Linked DNA regions of Homo sapiens: region 2 is linked to region 1. The links are contacts of gene promoters, found by promoter capture Hi-C in blood cells and fetal thymus (Javierre and others, 2016). All regions are on one chromosome and are shown on one strand. The core of a region is centred on a gene start or on the middle of the fragment in contact, and the rest is flanking DNA. Distances in the headings are between cores, read along the strand shown. Region 1 holds the start of SLC2A2 (solute carrier family 2 member 2). Region 2 has its middle 83 kb from the start of TNIK.

Region 1 (4,336 bases), core at 118-2,617:
AATATGTATTTAACACTATTAATAATTATATAACTATTAACATTAAAATTGTTGTCTAAGCCTCTCTAATATAATCTCATTTAATTACTCCCTAACTCTAAAGTACTAGTATAATCCCTGAATATCCCATATTATATCACTGAGCCCAAGTTTCTTTGCCTATAAAGGGTATATTGTATCCTAATATGTTTTTGTTTTCTCACAATAGAGAAAACCCAAAGCTCAGTTAAATAACTTAACCCAGGCCTCACAGCAGTTTAGTGGCATTGCTAGAACCCAGATCCAAGTCTGGCTGACTCCAAAGCCAGTGCAGCTAACCATGCCATCTAATGACATGAAGGAATGTTCAGCAGAGTAAGTTGCACCAGATGAGAACTTAAAGGTGAGACCCTACAGGGCACAGATTGATCAACTTATATGATTGTGTGTACAGGGGTGGGTGAGTTTAGAAACCACGTATAAGGGAGCAAGGACACTATATCCTTTATATTTTTAAGTTTTTTTTTAAAGTATCATATCTAGAGAGAAGTTGAAACAGTAGTGAAGTGATCATTCCATAACCTTCGCCTTTATTCACCACTGGTTAACATTCACCAATTTGTTGATCTCTCGCTCTGTAGTGTTTGTGTGTGTGTGTTGTTTTGGCTGAACCATTTACAAATAAGCTGTAGATATTTGTGTCATTTCACCCCTAAATACTTTAGCATGTACAAAGAACAAAGACATCCTCCTACATAATTAGATACCATTATTATATCCAAGAGTGTGAAATTGATACAGTAATATTATTTAAGATGCAGCCCATATTTAAAATTTCCCAACGTCTCCATAGTTCCCTTATTGCTATTTTTTTCTTCCTTCCACAATCTAAATCATTTGTTGCATTTGGTTGTCAGTTTGTCTTAATCCCTTTTAATCTAGAGAACAACCCTTCTACCTCTTTTGTCTCTCCTGCATTGACGTTTTTGAAGATTCCCGATGAGTTTTCATGATTAAATTTAGGTCAATCTGCCCCCTTTTTTTTTTTTTTTTTTTTGGTTAGGAGGGGACATATTTCTTTAGTAATATGGTTATGCACAATTACTTGAAAAAACTTATGCAGACTAGTCAGTTAACAGAGCAAAAATCCTTAAAACCCCAATTACTGAATAAGAAACAGTTCTTCAATTGGCAAAGTAAAGAGAATTAATTTTGATCTGTGGTAGCTACACCCAACCTCCCCCAAATCCTCTGTATGACTTGACTGTATTCCCCTAACTATCTCCTGAAAACCAGACTTGAAATGAATATAATGCTGCTTTACCTTATCTTCTGTCATTGTACTAGTTGGGAGTCCTGTCAATTCCAGGTCTTGTGTGAGTGTGGCACATGCACCTGACTAGCTCCTGCCTGTTTATTCGCAGCTCTGCCTAGGCCTAGTTATGCATTGCAGGAGGAGGAGCAAGGAGAGGGAGGAGTTGGGCTACCCAGACCTGAGAGTCCAAGTCTAATCTTCTCAGCGGCAGCTGAATATTGATGGGAATCTAATCAATAAGTGCTTTGCCTCAGCAACCTGTGGCTTCAATACCTTTGTTCCACTAGGAAAGAAAATGGGAGCAGGTCCCTTAGGCATAAGTTACAAACCAGAGGCAATCACATTTCAAGGCATGTGTTATGTGGCAGTAATTGGGAGCTGGTGAAAAGAGAAATCTTTGGAGTCTTTTGTAGAAGATGAGATATGCTGAGCTGCCGTGCTGTGCTGTGGAGCATGGGAGGCACACTGCACTCTGCTCCACAGATAATTAGTGCTGTGGTGTTTCTGTTTAGAGCTGAGCTGTGTGGCCGGAGACCATTGTTGACTTGAATGGTTACCTGGATGAGCTTTGGATTGTTAGGGACTTGGGTTTGAATCTCAACATTTTACTGGGGAGTATAACCTTAAGCAAGTGGCTCACTGTGACTTTTCTCTGATTAGTTTTTTATTTTTGCCTGATAAAATAGAAATAACACACATTTTGTTTTGTTGAGTGGATTAAATGAGATAATATGTGAAAGTGTTTGGCATATCTCAACATATAATAAGTACTTAGCAAATAGCGGTTGTTATTATTATTGCTTCATATATGTCAAGAAGCACTTGCTGGAGGCTTTAACGTAGAGTTCTCAAATAAACCTGCTCATATGGCTTGATCTTGGGCCTAAGTATCCCTTATGATATCCAAACCCTGTGGGGGTTCAGGAGATATCAAATTTATTGAGCTTTAAGTGTGTGTGGCAACTGGGGCCACAGATTGCACTGAGGCTCAAATGGAACCAGTTCCCAGCGGAACAAAAATGTAACAAGCAGCAACACAATGAGGGGTGTTATGAAGAAACAGGGTGAGAAAATGAAGGATTAGAGGAGATTCAGATTTCACCTTTTTATTTTGCCACCCTGTTTTCATTTCTGTCACCTCTGCAAGGTGACACACCTGAAATGTTTGGTTTGAGAAGGTAATTCAATCAAACTACAAACTTTTACTGAGTCCAGCACAGTTCCATGCTCCGAGATGACTGAGATAAATAAGTCACAGCCTCCTCTTTCTAGGTGTTTATAACATATAAGATGAGACATATGTAATGCAGACACAATACAATAATTTCATAGTGGAAAAGCGTGAGCAAATATTAATAGTAATGATGGTTAATCTTTACTGAGGTCTTGCCGGGTGCCAGGTGCTGCTCTCAGCACTTGACATGGATTAACTCGTTTAGTCATAACATGAGGTGCTCTGTGTCATAGTGCCAAGCTTTGGGGAGCAGCTTTGAAGTCAGACTTTAAAGCGCCCAGTTAGCCACGCTGACTTTCCGCATCAGTTTTGGCTGGTGATGAGCACGCCCCATTGCCAGAGCGGTCCACAGTCAGGAGCGGTTCCATGGCATTTGCCAGTGACATGACATTCTGCAGGAAAGCGTCTCTGTGCCGCGTCGTAAATGATACCGGTGTGGTTTACCAACCTTTGTCTTTTGAACCTGCCTTTTCAGAAACGGAATTTGCCTTGAGTGCGCGGGCGGCCAGTGAGCCTTTAACTTCTTGTGCTCAGCCCCGGCCTGCCGGCGCGGAGCACGGCGGCAGGAAACCATTCTCTTCTCCCATTGGGAGCGCGACCCGCCATTCACTAGCGGGCCTTCGGGGCACCCTGATCAGTTTCCTCAGGTTCAGCCAAGGCCTCTGTGGTTCTGCTCTTTCTCAGAAATGAATGAGTAATCTCTGCACCATCTGGGATATGCTAAAACTTTATCTCCGTGCGGGGAGGGGGTGCGATTCATTTACATTGATGCTCTGATTGCTTTTGCCCGCGGAGAACTGATAAGCGATTCCAGCCTTTCAGGAGAGCGTGTCTTGGCGCCCACCGAGGAGCTGCAGGTCGTTGCACTCCTGGCTGTGGTGAAGTCAGTCTTTTCGCACTTTGCCATTGGAGTGGGCGCTATTCAATAACGTGCACCAGTGCCTGCAATCACCCGGAGATTTCCACTGGGCAGGGCGAAACCAGTTCTGTGTGGTTGTTCTTTAGGCTTCATACTTTTAAGCCCTCTAGGTCACATTCGGATTACTTCGCTGATTAATGTAATCTTGGTGGATGCCAGAAGTTCTAGGTGGTGACAGGACTGAAAAGAGTCCGCCCTCCCTCTCCCCTTTTTTCATTGTCATCCTTTCCTTCAGTAAAATTAGTTTTTTTTTCTTCTTCCATAAATGAGGAGGGGAGAGTGGAGAGATAAACCAGCTATTTCAGCATGCTGCATTCCTCTCCAGTTGGGTCAGATGTGGTTAAGTGCAAAGGCATCTCCTGGGAACAAATTAAATGAGGTCAAACTTGGCCAAGCCAGGAGTACAAGAGAATATCGGAAGGTCCCAGTCCCTGAAGGACAGTCAGTGTATTTTAAGATTTTTGAGCCAAATTTTTCCCCATTGTAGCTTGCCAAAAAAGAGGGCAAACTCTTTACATCCTCTTCTCGCCTCTCCACACCCTCTCCCTAGATATCTCTGTGGTCTGCATCTCTTCCACATGTCTTCACAGCCTCCTACCTGACTTCCCTGCTCCCATCTTACCCTGCAGTACCTTCTTGACACAGTAGTTAAGATATATTTTTAAAGTTAGATCATAATACACTCCTGCTTAAAAGTCTCCAAAGGCTTCCCAATCACCCTTAGCAAGAAACCCACGTTTCTCACCACAGCCCAAGAGGTTGACTTGACATAGGCCCTGGGTGGCTCTGAGACCTTCTCCCCTTCCGTGGGCCCAGCCACACTGGCCTCAGACTTGTCTAATATGTTCCATGTTCAGCACCTTTGTCCTCAATGAGCTTCTGCCTATAG
Region 2 (4,101 bases), core at 1,095-3,594, 520 kb after region 1:
ATTCTTTCATTTATCTCCTCTTTAGTCCTTGGTAGTATTATTGTCATTGGCTTTATCGCTGCATGTGCTAAAACTCCTACAATTAAAGAATGAGAAAAAAAGGTTTTTATGTATATCCTCATATTTTCCATTTCCTGTTTTTTACTCCTTTGTTAGATCCAAATTCTCCACTGACATCAGTTTCCTTCTGCCTGAAGAATTTCCTTTAGCATGTCTTGCAGTGGAGGTCTACTGACTTTTGTTTGTATGAAAAAGTCTTTATTTTGTCTTTGTTGTGAAAGATATTTTTGGTGGGAATATAATTCTACATTGACCGTTGTTTTTTCTTTCAGTCCTTTAAGATGTCACTTCATTGTCTCCTGGCTTGCATAGTTTCTTACAAGAAATACGCTCTAATGCTACCTTGTTTCTTGACACGTAAAGGGGTTTCTTTTCTCTGGCTGCTTTTTATTACTGTTTTTCACCAAGTTAACTATAATGTGCTTTTATGTATTTTTCTTTATGTTTATTCCATTTGAGTTTTGTTGAGATTCTAAGGTCTATACATTTACCACTTTTCATAAATTTTGGAAATTTCAACTATTATTTATTAGTTCTTCAAATATTTGTTTTCCTTCTCTCCTCTACTCTTAGAACTGCATTTACTATATTTTAGACAACTTGATATTTCCCCAAATGTCATGGAGCCCTCACTCCCTTCCTTCCTACCTTCCTCCCTTCCTCCTTCCCTTCCTTCCTTCCTTCCTTCCTTCCCTCTTTCTCTCTTTCTTTTTCTTTCTTTCTTCAGAGTCTCATTCTGTTGCCCAGGCTGGACTGGTGTGGTCATAGGTCACTGCAGCCTGTAACTTTCGGACTCAAGCAATCCTCCCACTTTAGCCTCCCCAGTAGCTGGGATTATAGGTGCATGCCACCATGCCCAGCTAATTTTTTCATTTTTTGTAGATATAGAGTCTTACTATGTTCCCAGGCTGGTCTCAAGCTACTGGACTGAAGCAATCCTCCTGCCTTGGCCTCCCAAAGCACTGACATTACAGGCATGAGTTACAGAGCCCAGCCTATTAATTTTTTAAAAATATTTTTTTCTCCCTGTGCTTCATTTTGGGTAATTTTTGTTGTTGGGTCTTTATGTTCACTAATTTTTTATTTTATAGTATTAGTCTGCTGTTACTTTTATTCAGTGTATTTTTTATTTAGAATATATTTTCATATCTAGATGTTCCACTTGAGTCTGTTAAAAAATATCTTCCATTTCTCTTGTTGTTATATTCATGTTTTGCTTTACATTTTCAAGCACATGGCACATACCTCTAATAACTGGTTCAGGTCTTTTCTAATTCCATAATCTCTGTCATCTCTAATTTTGTTCATATTGATTGATTATTAGCCTGACTATGGGTCATATTTTTCTCTTCTTCTTGCCTGGTAACTTTTTACTAGGTGACAGCCATTGTAGATATAATTTTGTTTGTTTTTTGTTGTTGTTGTTTATGGGTGCCAGATTTTGTTGAATTCTTTTAATAAGTGTGGACCTTGTTCTGATAGGCAGTTAAGTTACTTGGAAACAGTTTAATTCTTTCAAGCCTTGTTTTTAAGCTTTTGTTAGGCTGGGTCCAGAGCTTTGTTAGGCTGGGTCCTGGCTTTGTTTTAGGGTTAATTTAGCTCAACTAGAAAATGCACTTTGAGGGCTCAGCCCAATTCCCTGTGTATTATGAGGCCTCTTTACTCTGACTGATGGAAAAGCGAACATTTCCCAGCCGTGTGTAAACTCCAAGAATTACTGAGCTTACTTCTTTCTGGCTTTTCTTTTTCCAGCGTCATAGTTTTACCCCACACATGCACAGGTCAGCAGCAGTCAAAGATTCGAAGGGGCCCTTCTGCAGAGCTCCACAGTGCTCTGTCTGTGTGTCTCCCTCATTTCTGGTCCTTTGCCCTGGCCTCCCTGAAACCTGATCTCCACCTCCTTACTCAATGAGACTGCTATACCTGTTTGGGTTTCCTTTTTCCTGCCCTGCAGCCTGGAAACTGCCTCCAGGAAGTAACTGGGGTAGTCATAAGGAGGGCTCACATCATATGCTTCCCCTCTCCCAGAGATTACAGTCCTGCTTTGCTTTCTGTCCAAAGACTGCAAACAGTTGTTTCATGTATTTTGTCCATTATTCTAATGGAATATGTCAAGGAGGTAATTCTGTCACAGCTATTCCTTCATGGGCAGAACAGAAATCTATTTCACATTTTTCAGGCATTTTCTACCACTTGTCTTCTTTTAGTGTCCTCAGCATAACTTTCAAAATAATTATATGAGATACGTGTGTGTATGTGTGTGTATATGTGCATCTGTATATATGAGTATGTGTGTAATTATCCTCACTGTCCAAAATCGTTGGTTCTCTGAGTTCAGATAGGGAGATTCTTGACAAGAGAGTTTGGATAGCAAGGGATGCCTTGTTATCTGAATCAATTTGGTTCTCGACGTTTAGCTAGTGAGTAGCAGAGTTGGAAGGGGGAGCAGAGAGGATTCTCAATCAGGGTCCCAGTCAGAAAGTAATGGTTAATTCAACGGGTTTAATGAAAAAGGGGTAAAAGAGAATGTTAGCTAGAGAGTGGTGGGCAAGATTAAGGGAACCAACAGGAACCCAAATACTAGCACCAATGGGAAGCAGTTAACATCCCTAGTCCTAAAGGGACAAAGAGAAGGAATGTTTTTCCCAAGGCCACCCAATAGGATCTGCGGCTGTAGAGGGGCTCGGCCCCTGCTGAGGTTGTGGCCAGGCTCTAAGGAAATGGATATCGGAGAGGCCTTCGTTGTGGTTCCCTAGAAGCAGACTCTGAAGCAAGGATTTGCGTGTAAGTGAATGATTGAGGAAGTGCTCTCTGGAGACACACATGAGAGAAACAGGGAACCAAGACAGGGAAAGAGGGAAAGCCTTGCAAATTACAGATTCAAGCAATGTCCCAGCACCAGCCCAACCCCAGAGGTTGCTCTGGCGTGAAATCATATATCAGAGTCATCACCCTTCAGAGTTTTTCCCACCTCAAGGCAAGGGAGCTGGTTTTCAACCTCTTACCTCAGTGGTTGGCTAATGTCCAGAGGTGACATAAGCTTCCAGACACCCCCCAGCTGTCTACCTGTACTGGGTGAAGTGGCTCTGTGGCCCAAAGTGGGCTTCTGAGGAAAGCTGCAGGTGTCAGCCAACAGAAACAAAGGACATAGAAACCAGGAAATGGATGCTCAAAAACAGGCATGTGGGTGTGGCACCAACAGTGTTTATCACAGTAGAGGAGGGAAATAGATACCCCAAACACGCTCACCATTGATCTCCCATTGGCCACGCCCAATTAGAAGCTGGAGGGCAAGGCAACCCAGGGGATGCTATCCTAGTTGTCAGCCTCTGGGGCTTAGAGTAGGCACTGGAGGGTGGAAAATGGATCTGGATGGAGAGCAAAGGGAGAATAAATAGGAGAGGACAGCATAGATCTAAAATTTTATACATATCTATTTGGTCCTTAAATTCAAAAAGTGATAGTCTGGAAAGCAAGAGATACTTGTATGTGTGTAATGTATCACACACATACAAGTCTAGTCTAATAAACGTAAACTAATGTTTATTAGACTAATAACCATAATATAATGGCATGGATTATACCCTCAATGTTACTTCTGTGACTGTAGAGCAACCTCTCTGGGTTAATTCCTTATTTATAAAATTTCAAAACACAACAACAAAAAAATGCATGTCTTCTATCTTCAGCAGGGAAGAGTTATGAAAAATAACATACTAAGTGGTTGAGATGAAAAGAACTACTTCTCAATCTTGCTTGACCCTTGGAAACATCTCACTATCTTTTGTGTGTTCAAATTCCAGGTACTGACAATACAGAAATAAAAACATATCCTGGTAGTGTCTTTAAGGAAATAGGATACTGAAAATAAATTGAACAAAATGTCTTTGACACTTGTGATCTTGAGAAATCCTGAATATTATCATTGTCTTCTGCTTTTTTGAAAATTTCACATTTATTTAATTTCTGCCCCTCTGATATTTGACATTAGCGCTCTGGAAAAATATCACCGTTGGTGAAAGCCAAGATTCCAAAGGCCCA

What was found. Contacts are between HindIII fragments. The CHiCAGO score rates a contact against its expected background, and 5 or more counts as called.
Region 2: a contact is called between a fragment that was not itself captured here and the fragment with the promoter of SLC2A2 in region 1, in 1 of 17 cell types (endothelial precursors). The highest score is 8.0, in endothelial precursors.

The regions. Positions count from the first base shown.
Region 1 is chr3:171,025,353-171,029,688 of GRCh38, forward strand. SLC2A2 (solute carrier family 2 member 2) reads right to left here and starts at 1,368. Exons shown (of 11, transcript NM_000340.2): 1 at 1,304-1,368. The coding sequence starts at 1,318. The HindIII fragment of the contact is 3,598 bases long and covers 1-2,766 here.
Region 2 is chr3:171,541,220-171,545,320 of GRCh38, forward strand. No RefSeq gene overlaps it. Among named protein-coding and RNA genes, the nearest start is that of TNIK, 83 kb to the left of the region's middle. The HindIII fragment of the contact is 1,507 bases long and covers 1,592-3,098 here.